Regions from separate parts of the Homo sapiens genome. Here region 1 is linked to region 2. The links are contacts of gene promoters, found by promoter capture Hi-C in blood cells and fetal thymus (Javierre and others, 2016). All regions are on one chromosome and are shown on one strand. Each heading gives the region's core, a stretch centred on a gene start or on the middle of the fragment in contact. The rest is flanking DNA. Distances are from core to core; before and after follow the strand shown.

The links. Contacts are between HindIII fragments. The CHiCAGO score rates a contact against its expected background, and 5 or more counts as called.
Region 1: a contact is called between a fragment that was not itself captured here and the fragment with the promoter of GCM1 in region 2, in 9 of 17 cell types (total CD8 T cells, non-activated CD4 T cells, total B cells and 6 more). The highest score is 8.5, in total CD8 T cells.

What each region holds. Positions count from the first base shown.
Region 1 is chr6:53,424,262-53,431,429 of GRCh38, reverse strand. No RefSeq gene overlaps it. Among named protein-coding and RNA genes, the nearest start is that of GCLC-AS1, 3.6 kb to the left of the region's middle. The HindIII fragment of the contact is 690 bases long and covers 2,047-2,736 here.
Region 2 is chr6:53,147,198-53,154,090 of GRCh38, reverse strand. GCM1 (glial cells missing transcription factor 1) reads left to right here and starts at 5,250. Exons shown (of 6, transcript NM_003643.4): 1 at 5,250-5,337. It also overlaps the pseudogene LOC124901513 and the pseudogene RNU6-464P. The HindIII fragment of the contact is 12,096 bases long and covers 1-6,708 here.

The DNA.
Region 1 (7,168 bases), core at 1,142-3,641, 280 kb before region 2:
ATGACCTAAATACCCCAAAGGCCGCAACTCCCAACAGTGTTGCACTGGGATTAAGTGTCAGCATTCAAATATATTCTAAAACCCTCATTTATAAAGCCTTCTCTTTTACTTAACAAAGATAAAGGTGAAATCTTCCAGTCAATGGTGAGAAGACAGTTATTTTATAAATGATTTTGGGAAACCAGGTAGCCATCTAAAAATAAAACTAAAATTGTCTTAACCCCTCCCACTTGCACCAGGAAAATATACAATTGAATCAAAGATTTCAGAGTAAATAATGAAATTATAAATCAGTTCTAAGAAATCTCGAGAGAATTCTTCGAGAGTTGGAAAAACCTCTCTATGACACAAAACTCAAGAACCATAAACAAAAAGATTTATAAATTTGACAATACGAAAATCAACCATTTCTACAAGGCCGAAGCTACCATAAACAAATTTCAAAGACAAACAGCAAACTGGGAAAATATATATGCAAGATATATTGGAAGCAAAGGGCTACTTTTCCTTATATAAAGAAAGCATGTATAACGTGTTAAAAAAAATCAATAACTCAATTTTTTTAAAGGTACAACAATCCTCCCAATGACTCTTAACCAATAAAACATGTTTAATCTCACTCATAGCTAAAGAATGCAAATTAAAATAATACTGAGCTACCAATTTTCACTTGTGAAATTAGGAAAGGTCAAAAATTTGATAATCTTCTGTGCTGATGAGGTTGTGGGGAAAGAGGCATTTTCATATTGCTGATGGGAATGTAATAGGTACAACTTCTATGAAGAGGAATTTAGCATTATTTACCAAAATCACAACTACTCCTACCCTCTGATCCAGAAAATTCTACATCTAAAAATTTATCTTACAGATTACATGTACACACACTTCCAAAATGTATAAGGTTATTCGTTGCAGCTCAGAAATGAAAAATATTAGCAATAAACATGATCTCTCTCAATAAGAGATAAATCAACAATGGCACACCCCACAAAGAAGTAAGACCTCTGCTCCTTCTCCACACAGCCTGTAAATATCAGCTGTCCTCCACACTCAGTCCTAGACCTTCTTCCATTCCTACTCTTGGTGGTCTCATCCATTGCCAGGGCTTTAAATATCTTCACAGAAATTATCTCATTCCAGAAACCTTATAATAATCTTTTTTGTCTTCCTATCCCTCGTTCTCTTCACTAAATGCTATTAAACTACCTCAAAATTACATTTTAATAGTAAAACAGCTTTATTCATGTATAACTGAAATAAACTGTACATAATTGTAGTACATTATTTGATAAGCTTTGACACAAGTATACATTCAAAACTACCACCATAATCAAGATAATAAACATCTCCATCATCCCCGAAAGTTTCCTAATGCTCCTTTGTAATCCCTCTGGCCCACCTCTCCCTACTCCCCAAACTAGCCACTGATATGCTTTCCATCATGACAGCTTAGTGTGTATTTTCTAGAATTTTATATAAATAGAATCTTACAGTATAAACTCTTCTTTTCATTCTTCTTTCACTTACCATAATTATTTTCAGATTCATCTATGTTTTGTATATTATTAGTTCATTCCTTTTGTGACTGAGTAGTATTCCATTGCATGGAAATATCATAATTTGTTTAAATTCACCTATTGATAAACATTTGAATTCCTTTCATGTTTTCTCTATTATAAGTCAAACTGGTATGGATGCAAACATATATTTAATACATCCAGTTTCCTACATTTAAAAAAGTTCTATGTTTCTTCCTCCTGTTTTTAACACCTTTGCTAACCAACCACCATCTGTGAGTAGGTGTTAAGGGTTTCTTGACTGATCTTCTACTTTCTATTCTTCATTCTACCCTACAACCATAGCTATCATTTTTTTAAAAAACATTAATGTTTGTCCTTTTTTGTTTAAAGTTCTTTAGTAACCACCACTTCCTCTACCTTGCCCCAGCCCAGTACTCTAAGGATGTAATCCAAACTTCATAGTCTAAAATGCCTTTTATATTATCTGGCCTCCCTCACTTTACCTAGCACTGCTGTCTTTCAAGCTTGTGCTTCCTGACCCACATAATCCTTTTCTCATTGCCTCAAAAGCTCCACTATTTTTTTTCTACTCCAGGTATCCGTCACATGCTGTTCCTTCTTGGAATTCTCTTCCCCAGTTCATCTACTATCTTGCAACTTCTCCCATTCCTTAAGTTTCCAAGAAATCAGTAATGGATTACAAACATCTATCCAAATTTTCTGCCACTGTTGAAGAGGTAAGAGATGAGTTGACTCATTCAAGAAATGGAGCAAGGAGGCTGATCTAAGGAAGAAAAAAAATGAGCAAAGCCAAAAACTATGAACCCATGGTGATAATATCCACCGTATTGAGAGGCCAGTCCAGGAGGCTCATCAGTCTTTTCATAGCTAAAGACCACAGAAGTAATCAAAAGTAAAATATGTATGACAAAAAACCATTGAGTTGATAAAAGACAGCCTTGAGCAAACATTAAAATATGAAATGGAAAAAAGATGAAAATTACTAGACAGATGACTACTAATATGGAATCTAGACAAAGGCGATCTAATATAAAAATAATGGGTATTCTTAAATTTTAAAAAGCAAATAGTGAAAGAAAATGTACTTAAAGATTTAATAACAAAAAGAGAACACAAAGCACTAGAAAAAATTTCCCAGGAAAATCTGATAAAGAATATTTAATGCTTACACATATCTTGAAATAAACTAAAAGCTTTAAGGACATCCATGTAGAAAAAGAAAAGCTCCTCTAAGTGTAAGGGCTGTGAGGGAGGTGCAGATGAGCCTGACCTCCAAAACCTCAGCAGCAGCATTCAATGCCAGAAGACAATGGAGCTCTGCTTACAAAGTTCTGAGGAAAGGAAAGGGTAACTTTGTGTCCATCTAATTGTGCTTGAAACATAAAGGCAGGAAACAAACTTTAAAATAAGCAGCAATTCATGAAATTTAGTGCTCATGAATTATTTTTGAAAAAGCCATCCAACAACAAAACCCAGCAAGCCAATTGTTAAGTGAAAAATTAAAAACCCGGAAGTGGAAGGTTGGTCATTAAACACATTCAATGGCTTAAAGAAAAAGCAAAGCTGAGAATTATGGCTACAGGACAGAGTAAATTTATGAATCTTGATAATGAAAAAATAATAATACACTTAACAGAAATATGGTGTTGTAGGGGTAGGTTAGAAAGATGGTGCCATGTTGCTTACCTTCAGTGCAGGCAGATCCATAGATACTGCTTGAATTGAAGCATTTTGGTGATTGGGTTTTTTTTTTTTAAGTAAAAAAATCTTTTGAAATTTTAGAGTTATCTTCTAGGAAAATAAAATTGCTTGATGTGAAGAAACTTATTAATCTGAGATTGAGCAATTCTACCAATTTCACTAGCTTTTCTCCAGTTTAGTTCAAGTAAAGACAAATTTAATGCTTTTTGTTTTTTAAAAAAAGCATTTACAGTAGGTCCCATTTTTGTAGAATTATGTCTATGTGTGAATATGGGTACATACATAGAGAGATCACTAGGAACTAGGATGATGTTGCCAAATGTTATGACAATTATTTCTGGGTAGTTGATAGTGGGGGTTTTGCTTGTTGGTTTTGTTTTTTAACTTTCTTCTATATACTCTTCCGTAGCCCTTTTTGTGATAAGCATGTATCAGTTTTATAAAACCAATACGTTTTGAATAGGTCCCTGACATCTGAGCTATTGCAGGGTATGGCTGAGGAGAGGGAATTTTACCAGAAGGCCCATTAACCATGGGTCTCATACTCATAAAGACCATAAACTTAGATTTTTTATGTCCTCTCCAAATGAGTTCATACATGCTGTAATTGAAATATACTAATAGGATTAAACACTTAAATTATAGGGAGTTTTCTTCTTTTTAAAATTATAGCTGGAACTTCAAGATGTCCATTCTTCTTGAGAAGCCCTGCATATATTATTCAAAATTAAATAAATAATGATTTAATACATTGGGAAGGATATGGCTCAGAGGAAGGATCCTAGAGGCTTCCTTCCCCTTCCTAGATCATGCCCAGTTTAGAACTTTCTACCAGGTGAACACGTAGCCCTGACACTTCCACCTACAGCTGCAAGCATTGAACAAAAGGCAACTAATTTTTATGCGCCATTTCTGGAACTAGCCCTAGTCATCCAACACACAGATCTCTTTGAATTATAATGCTCAGAGATTTTTACTTGCTTATATTTGGCTCACTTTGGTCTGCCTTCTCTCTGATCTGATGACTCAGTTCCTAATCTCACTACTGAGTTTAGCAAATACTGCTTTTCTCACAACTAGATTCATAATTAGATTATCCATTTGTCTTTGGCTACCTGAACTCACATCATAACTGTGGGTTTCAATTCCCACCTCTCCCCTGCCTCACTGCTTCTTTTTTTTTTTTAATTGTACTTTAAGTTTTAGGGTACATGTGCACAATGTGCAGGTTAGTTATAGGTGGGAATTGAACAATGAGATCACTGCTTCTTAACATCTGGCTTGCTGCTAACCATATCTCATTCACCTGTAGTCATATGATACCGGAAAAGAAACCAAGAAAACAGTACGACTCGCTTGCTCATTAAAACTTCTGTGGCAATGAAGGGTGAAAAGGATTCATAAGAGTGATGAGAAATTCTGGCGGGACCAATATCCAGAATGATGAAATTGAGCTCCTCATGGAAAGATAGTCCTGGAACTCACAGGCTCTCATGCCCCTGAGATGTGGTAGAAATAGCCTTTAACTTGGAGTTAGAAGACCTTGGTTCTAATCCTAGCTCTGTGCTGGCAGAACTGCCCTACAAGTGAGATGAAAGGATGCTAAACAGTAACTCGAATCCTCACAAAGAAATAAAAAGCAGCAATAAGGGTAACTACACAGGTGACTTATAAAAGCATAAATGTGTGTTTGCTTGTAATTTTTCTGATTTAAGACAACTGCATAAAGTAATACTTATAAAACTATTGATGGATTTATAACATATAAAGATGTAATTGGGCAATAATAGCATAATGGACTAGGGAGGAAAATGAGTAATAATGGGATAGAAAAAAAGAGAGAAAACAAATAAATAAAATTAAATTCTAGCTCTACAAATTATGAGTTGCGTAACCTCGAGCAATTTTTTACCCAACTTGAGTCTCAATGTTCTGCATACATAAGGTATAATATTTATCTTATCGTTAAGTAAGATGACATTTATTTTAAAAGGTTGTTGAGAGAATAAAGTGAAAACAGTGTTTCACAAATATTTTGTACAATGATTTGCACAGGCACTCAATAAATGCTGGAACTACTGGGTAATGTATACTTGGTGGTTCAGTACATGACTTTCTCTACTTTTCTGCACATTAACATTTTTATAGTAAAAGAAAATTTAATTTAATTTAAAATTTAATTCCAGCCTCCTTCCTTTTATGTGGGTTTCTGTCACCAGGCTGGAGTGCAGTGGCGCAATCTTGGCTCACTGCAACCTTCGCCTCCTGGGTTCAAGTGATTCTCCTGCCTCAGCCTCCTGAGTAGCTGGGACTACAGGCGCCCACCACCACGCCGGCTAATTTTTTGTATTTTTAGTAGAGACGGAGTTTCACTCTGTTGGCCAGGATGGTCTCTATCTCTTGACCTCATGATCCGCCCTCCTTGGCCTCCCAAAGTGCTGGAATTACAGGCATGAGCCACTGCGCCAGGCCAAAATATATCTTAAAGAGTTAATCATTTGAACACACATAGGAAATTGGGAGAGGTAAGGACTTGAAATCGCTGTTGCTAGCATTTTTAACTTTGTCCCAGATCTTAATGATTAAACAATGTCCGTGGGAAATTTGAATGTAAATAATGTGGGGCTGGGCCTGGCACGGCGGCTCACACCTCTCATCCCAGCTCTTTGGGAGGATGAGGCGGGCGGATCACCTGAGGTCAGGAGTTCAACTTCTTTGAACCATTTGTTGAAGAGACTGTCCTTTCTCCCACTGAGTGATCTTGGCACCCCTGTTGAAGATCATTTGGCTGCATATGTGAGGGTTTGTTTCTGAGCTGTCTATTCTATTCCATTGATCTTTATGGGCGCAGTTAACTTTAAGAAAGGAAGACTATGTATGTGTACCTATCTTAATCATATTAGCCACTTAAGAGCAGTGAGTTTTCTTTGGCTGGTCACAGAAGGAAAAACAGAGATTTAAAGTATGAGCAAAATTTGACAAAGGCGTGTTGCTGAAATGGAGGGACCGTGTGGCTAGGACCTGAGGGCAGCCTCTAGCAGTTGGGAGTGTCCCCAGACTACAGCTGACAACAACAAGGAAATGTATTCTGCCAACAATTTAAGTGAGTTTGGAAGTGGCTCTTTCCCTAGTTGAACCTCCTGATGATGGCACAGCTATACAACATCTTAATTTAAGCCTTATGAGACCTTGAGTAGAGGACCCAGTTAAAACCAGACTCCCAACACAAAAACTGTGAGATAATAAATTTGTGTTATTTTGAGCTGCTAAGGTTGTGGTATTTGTTACACAGCAATAGAAAACTAATATACCCTGGTTATACCTTCTTCCTCTGATTAGGTCATTAACGGCCCTAGAGTTGGGGGCCATTAGCTCACTGAACTCCATGGCTCTTTTATTCTTACCAAAGTTTAGACTGGCTGGAATATTTTTTTCTTTATTTTCTCTTATCTTATTTACTTATCTTTAGGAAAGAATTTTAAATTAATCTAAGTTTAGAAATAGGTAATACCTATCCATGGTTCATAGTCAAAATATGTTGCAAGAGATATAGTGAAGACTCTCTCTGCAACTATTCTTCCTCATCTGTCTTGTTCTCACCTGCCACCTCCTCCCCCCCTCACCAGATAACCACTGAGAACAGTTTCCTGATATTCTTCTCAAGTTACTTTTAAATGCACATATGTGACAAAGACTGTTAATTACTTCCCATTTTCATTCTTCTCTTCTTAAATAGTGTTAGAATTTTTAGCTGGACACCTGGCTGCCAGGAATTAAAAATATGTTCCCCAGGCTCCCTTATAGTTAGATGTGACCAGATGGGATACAGACAAACAGGCTATGAGGCAACTTCCAGGAACCTTCCTTGGGACATGCCCTTTGCCCCTTCTTCTCCATTCCATCCTGCTTCCTGAAGAGTGGATGTA
Region 2 (6,893 bases), core at 4,001-6,500:
TAGACATACTCTCCCACGAAGGAAATGACTTTTAACATCATTCTTCTCCAGTTCATATTTTTCCTTTGACCTATGTCAATTTGCTGATGCCAAAAGTTTGGTTACACCACCTTGTAAACATCAAGCTACTTTACCTCTCTGTGCCTCGGTTTCCTTATACTAATTTCATACTTATATAGCTTAATAATACCAGTACTCCCTTTAGCACATACGCTAAAATTGGAATGATATGGAGAAGGTTAGCATGGCTTCTGTACAAGGATGGCATGCAAGTCAGTGAAGCATTCCATATATTTCTTAATATATTCAGTAGCAGAGTACGATGACTATAGTTAATAACAATGTATTGTATGTTGCAAAATAGCTAGAAGAGAGGACTTGAAATACTCCCAACATGTGAAACAGTAAATACTCAAGGTGAGGGACACCCCAAATTCTCTGACTTGATCATTACACATTCTATGCATGTAGCCAAAATATCATATGTACCCAGCAAATATGTACAACAACTAAAAATTTATATTAATTTCATGAAGTGGTTGTGAGAACTAAATGTTTGGAAAAATGCCGGATACATAATAAATGATAAATAAAAGTCCACAATAGAATGGCTGGGCACAGTGGCTCACGCTTGTAATCCCAGCACTTTGGGAGGCTGAGGTGGGTGGATCACCTGAGGTCAGGAGTTCGAGACCAGCCTGGACAACATGACGAATCCCCATCTCTACTAAATATACAAAAATTAGCTGGGCGTGGTGGCATGCGCCTGTAGCCCCAGCTACTCAGGAGGCTGAGGCACAAGAATCGCTTGAACCCGGGAGACGGAGGTTGCAGTGAGCCGAGATTGCGCCACTGCACTCCAGCCTGAGTGACAGAGCAAGACTCTGTCTTGAAAAAAAAAAAAAAAGTCCACAGTAGAAGAACTGGGCAAATGGCTGAAACTAGATAGGGTAGATACCAGAAGGATAGAACTGTAAGTGTAGAAGTTCATCCATTAGGTAGAACAAGGTATCTTTTAGGCTGTGAATTGGAAACCGCAGGCAATAGTCTAGGCAAACTTGTCAGCCCTGAGAGTCTGGCATGGTCACCCCAAACCAAAGGCAGCACAATACTGCTCCCTCCCTGGTTCCCGAACATGTAGAAATATGAAGGTGTGGGTTATGGTTGATATTGTGACTGGGATGTTGCTGGCATCTTGCGTCTGGGAATTCTGTGCATGGGACAGTCTGACCCAAATAATTATCCTGCTTAAAATGCCTAAAGCACCACTATTGATGAAAAAAAAACCAGAATGATCTCAATAGGCAGGCCTCAGAGTGTCAGGGAATGCAAAAGTAGAGATACTGAGAAATCCAATCATTAGTGGTTGAGGTCAGTTACCAAGTAATAGGGCCTCTAGCCACCTGGCTTAAGGCAGGATTCCTGTCTCTAGGGGAGGAGGCACAGGGTGGAAAGAGTGATGTAGAACTCAGATTTTATAGGAGTGGAGACAAAGACTCCAGATGCTGAACACATAGGGCTCTTCATGCAGTACCGTGGTCAACAGGCATGTCTCTGAGTTCTACCCCAGCTCTGCTACTTACATTTCTGTGTAAAGCTATTTGTCTGAGCCTTGATCTCCTTCTCCACAAAGGAGGCATAATAAAAATAGTATCTATCTGATAGGGATGCTGTATGGATCAAGAGTGATAATACAGACAGGTGATTAAGCATGGCGCCTGATTCATTGTAAATGTGCAGTCAAGGGAAGCTACTATGATTATTGTTATTAATAACAATGACAGAGATCCAATTAGGAGAATTTGGCCAGGTAAGGTGGCTCACGCCTATAATCTCAGCACTTTGGGAGGCTGAGGCAGTGGATCACTGGATCCCAGGAGTTCGAGCCCAGCCTGGCAACACAGTGAGACCCTGTCTCTACAAAAAGTTTTTAAAATTAGCTGAGTGTGGTAGCATGTGCCTGTGGTCCCAGCTACTTGGGAGGCTGAGGTGGGAGGATAGGTTGAGCCTGGGAAGAGGAGGCTACAGTGAGCTGAGATTGTGCCACTGCACTCCAGTCTGGGGGACAGAGCAAGACCCTGTGTCAAAAAACAAAACAAAACAAAAACAATTAGGAGAATTTGGGTAATAAGTTGGGACCTTGGCCTCAAGAAAGCAAAAATACCCTTACTAGTCTGGACATCATGTCACACCTCTATCAGAGTGTGAAGGCAGAGCTTCTCAGCGCCCTCCTGTGTCCGAGTAGGGTTGGTGCTTGGGACAAGGATGGCTGTGATGTTGCTGCTGGAAACTCAGCAAGTCTTTCTATGAGGAGAGGGAAAGTAGAAGATCCCAACTTGGCCGTGAAAGAACTAGCAGCCTCACTGGGGAGCCAGAACCAACACTCATCAACAATGAAAAGCAATAGCCTGATGTGGTGGCGGGCACCTGGAGTCCCAGCTGCTTGGGAGGCTCAGTGGGGAGAATGACTTGAACCTAGGAGTTTGAGTCTACCCTGGACCACACAGGGAAACCGTATCTCCAAAAAAAGCAAAACAAAACCAATCAACCAAACAAACAAAACAAAACAACTAAAGGCAATATCACGTAAAATAGGATTGCAAATAAAAATAATATCTTTTGTTCTATATGGGAACAAAAAGATATGGGAAAACAAAAGTTTGAAAGGACATGCCTGACATGTTAACAGTGGAAACCTATGGGAGATGAGAATATGACTTTTTTATAAATCATGAATTTATTTTGTAATTTAAAAACACTGTTAGATCCAAGTGATACAAGACAGCATATAATTCACAGTTAAGAGTTCAACATGGCCAGGCACCGTGGCTCATACCTGTAGTTCCGGCAATTTGGGAGGCCAAGGCAGGCGATTTCTTGAGCCCAGGAATTCAAGACCAGCCTAGACAACATGGTGAAGTCCCATCTTTACAAAAAATACAAAAATTAGCGGGACGTGGTGGTGAGCACCTGTAGCCCCAGCTACTTGGGATGCTGAGGCGGGAGGATCACTTGAGCCCAGGAAAGCGAGACCATAGTGAGCCATAATCACACCACTGTGCTCCAGCCTGGGTGACAGAGTAAGACCTTGTCTCAAAAAAGAAACAAAAGAGCATCACAGAAATGAGGAATCATGTGTTCTTGAATAGTGTGGGAAGCTCTCATAAGGAGGTGGCATTTTGGGGATCCTGAAGGGTAGACAGGGTTCAGATATATGGATGTGAAAAATACACTAGAGAATAGACCTAAGTAAGTGAATAAGCACAACAGGTGTGCCAGTGATTGACTTATTGCCTGTCGACACTAAATCCACTCTTTACTCCGCTTGTGATTCTGGACCTAGACCCTGTAGACATCCTCTTTCACCAGCTGGCATAATTTTAGGCTTTGTCCTGATACAATGTATCTGATGGATGGAGAAATGTCCTCCTGACCAACAAAGGGATTACAGAGAGGAGACCAAGACTGGCCAGATAAAGTACAATAAGATCAAGCAGGGTTGGTCAGGCGTGGTGGCTAACGCCTGTAATCCCAGCACTTTGGGAGGCCGAGGCGGGTGGATCACCTGAGTTCGGGAATTCAAGACTAGCCTGACCAACATGGAGAAACCCCATCTCTACTAAAAATACAAAATTAGCCGAGCGTGGTGGTGTGCGCCTGTAATCCCAGCTACTCAGGAGGCTGAGGCAGGAGAATCGCCTGAACTCGGGAGGCAGAGGTTGTGGTGAGCCGAGATAGTGCAATTACACTCCAGCCTGGGCAACAAGAGCAAAACTCCGTTTCAAAAAAAAAAAAAGATGAAGCAGGGTCTTAAACTTCAGGCAGGAAAGGAATTTGTTCATGAACTGAAAGACGAATGAGAAATCTATTAGGGGCCGCCGAATGCAACTATGAGGCTTTCCAAGCCTTTTGCCTTCTCGCCTTCTCATCTCTGCCTCCTAAGCCTCATCCTTGAAAGTCTGGACCTTCCTGACAGGTACTGATCCCTCGTCATGTTGTCCAGGATATTGTCACTCCCCGAAACACCCTCTTCCAGTCCTTCACGCCTTGATAAATATCTATTTGTCCTTCAAAAGGCTCATCGAGCATTATTTTGGTGGGTTTCCTTTGGTTCTCCTCCCTCCAGCTTAATAGCCTTCTCATTTATATTACTTTTATTCTATACATCAAATTAAATCGGCCTTATTTAGTAGCTTTAATCATCTTTTCTACTAGAATGAACTTCTTAATGGCTTTCATTCTCTCTTGTGTTGCCAAGGCCTGGCAGACTACCTAGAACAAAACATATGAACTGAACTGATTTAGGCTGTACTGCGGATGTCTCTAAAAGGAAGAATAGCACTGAGGGTATCTCTAGAAGAAATAATTGGTTTTTGTTTGTTCGTTTTTTTTTGTTGTTTTGTTTTGTTTTGTTTTTGTTTTTTTGAGATGGAGCCTCGCTCTGTCACCCAGGCTTGACTGCAGTGACGCAATCTCAGCTCACGCAACCTCCGCTTCCCGGGTTCAAGCAATTCTCTGCCTCAGTCTCCCAAATAGCTGGGATTACAGGCGCTCGCCACCACACCTGGCTAATTTTTGTATTTCTAGTAGAGACGGGGTTTCACCATCTTGGCCAGGCTGGTTTTGAACTCCCAACCTTGTGATCCGCCCACATCGGCCTCCCAAAGTGCTAGGATTACAGGTGTGAGCCACCACGCCCGGCCAAGAATTGTATATTTTTAGGGGATCAGAACACTTAGAATTAGTGGGACATTATTGCTAGGGTTAAGATAGCATTTCAGTATTTCTGGTATAGAGGATGTTGGCTATCCACTGTCTATTCCAGTAAATTTCCTCACCATAATATCTCTCTATCTCTGTCTGTCTGTCTTCTCTCTCTTGCACACATGAGAGAGAACTATTACCTGCCGGGTAAATAGTGGGAGAATTAGGACCTACTGTGAATCGTCTGCCTGGGGCCCAACCTGTAACATCACAAGAAGAAAAACATCTGTACTTCCTTATGAGGTTCTTTTCAATGTCCATTTTAGTTCAAATGTCCTCATAACATAAAGGGAGGGGGAAGTTCAGAGACACATCATAGAATATTCATCACATTGCTGGCATTCTGGGAAGAATCAGGCTGGTTAAGTGACTCCCAGGCTGCTCTTACCTATCCAGAGCCTAGAGCATCTAGATTTTGATTGGACCATTGCCAGAACTCATTAGCATAGTGTACCCTGACCTGGAATAGGGAACAGCGTCTGCTCAGAAAATGACCAGAGCCTGCTGGGACTTGAACCAGCAGTAAGATTTTCACGACACAGTGCTGTCTGCTTCTCCGTAAGAAGTTAGAAGGTAAGAAAGCCAGAAATCCCGTGGAGAGGCAAATGTAAGGGATGTGGCAACGACCACTCTATTCCTACAGGGTTTCATTTGTTCTAGTTCATTTTTCTGTAGAAATGATGAAAATTGAATATACTTTGCGCAAGTTGCTTTAAAAAAAGGAGTCTTGACAAGTGTAGTTTTTCAATCCTAGAAGAGGAAAACAGAGTTTACTTAAGGGCTGTAAAATGGTTTTTTCTTCTTTTCTATGTTTTGTTCTTAACTTTTAGGGAAATATTAAATTAATGCTCATTCGCTTAGCAAATGTTAATATCGAGAGAAAAATCTAAAATGTAACATAGTTGTTCTGTAATAAAATTTTCTTTATTATTCTTCCCTTAATTTAAAAACAAAATAATTATGTCTATATTGCCTAGGCTTTATAACAATGTTTTTGATTTTTGAAAATATGAATCTTATTTGCCAAGGTTTTTAAAAAGTAGATCTATTCCAATTAGTTATAACAAAATTTGCACCATCAGAGACAATATCGTTACTGTTCAGGGTAAGTACACGGAACTGCTGCTTGGTATCTGCATCTTCTATACCTGTTATTTAAGTCCTTTGAATTAGAGTCAATTTGCGGCATCATTTCTTCAGTAACACAATGTTTCTTTCCTAAACATAGAATTTTACTTAAAATCCATGAGGATTTAGTCTTGAAAATCAACATTCAGTTGGGGAACAGAAACTTCGTGCTCTGCAACCACTAGGTTGTAGCTCAGTATGGGTATGTGGAACAGACAGGAAGAGACTCTGATTAGCTTGTCATTTAATGGTCAAGAACTTTATTTATAAAGACTATACTTTCAGGGATCATTTCTATAGTTTGTTACTAGAGAAATTTCTCTGGACATCTAGAGCACACACAAAAAAGAAAAAAGGAACTTCATTCTTATGTTCAGGTCAACGGTCTTTTATATACATACACTTTCCCTTGGTAGAGTTCAGTGATTGACAAGTATTAGGATTATATAACACTAAATAACTAAAGAACAGGCCGGGCACAGTGGCTCATGCCTGTAATCCCAGCACTTTGGGAGACAGAGACGTATGGATCACCTGAGGAAAGGAGTTCAAGACCGGCCTGGTCAACATGGTGAAACCCCATCTCTACTGAAAATACAAAAATTAGCTGGGTGTGGTGGTGCGTGCCTGTAATCCCAGCTACTTGGGAGGCTGAGGTAAAAGAATCACTGGAGCCCCAGAGGTGGAGGCTATGGTGAGCTGAGATTGCGCCACTGCACTCCAGCCTGGGTGATAAGAGTAAGACTCCATTAAAAAAAAAAAAAAAAAAAAAACAATAAAAACTAAAGAAAAGAGTTCATGGGTCTCGCCAAAGCTTAGACTATTAATCTACCTTATAGTTTGAGTTCGCTATTAAATAGCTCTACATAACATCATTATGTCTCTTGTTTTTATAAGAGTACCAATAAATGAAATGTTATACATGTGAACATGTTTCACTTCATATCGTACTAACAAGTAGCTTTCATCTGCAAAATTATTCATTTTTTTCCTCAGGGTAG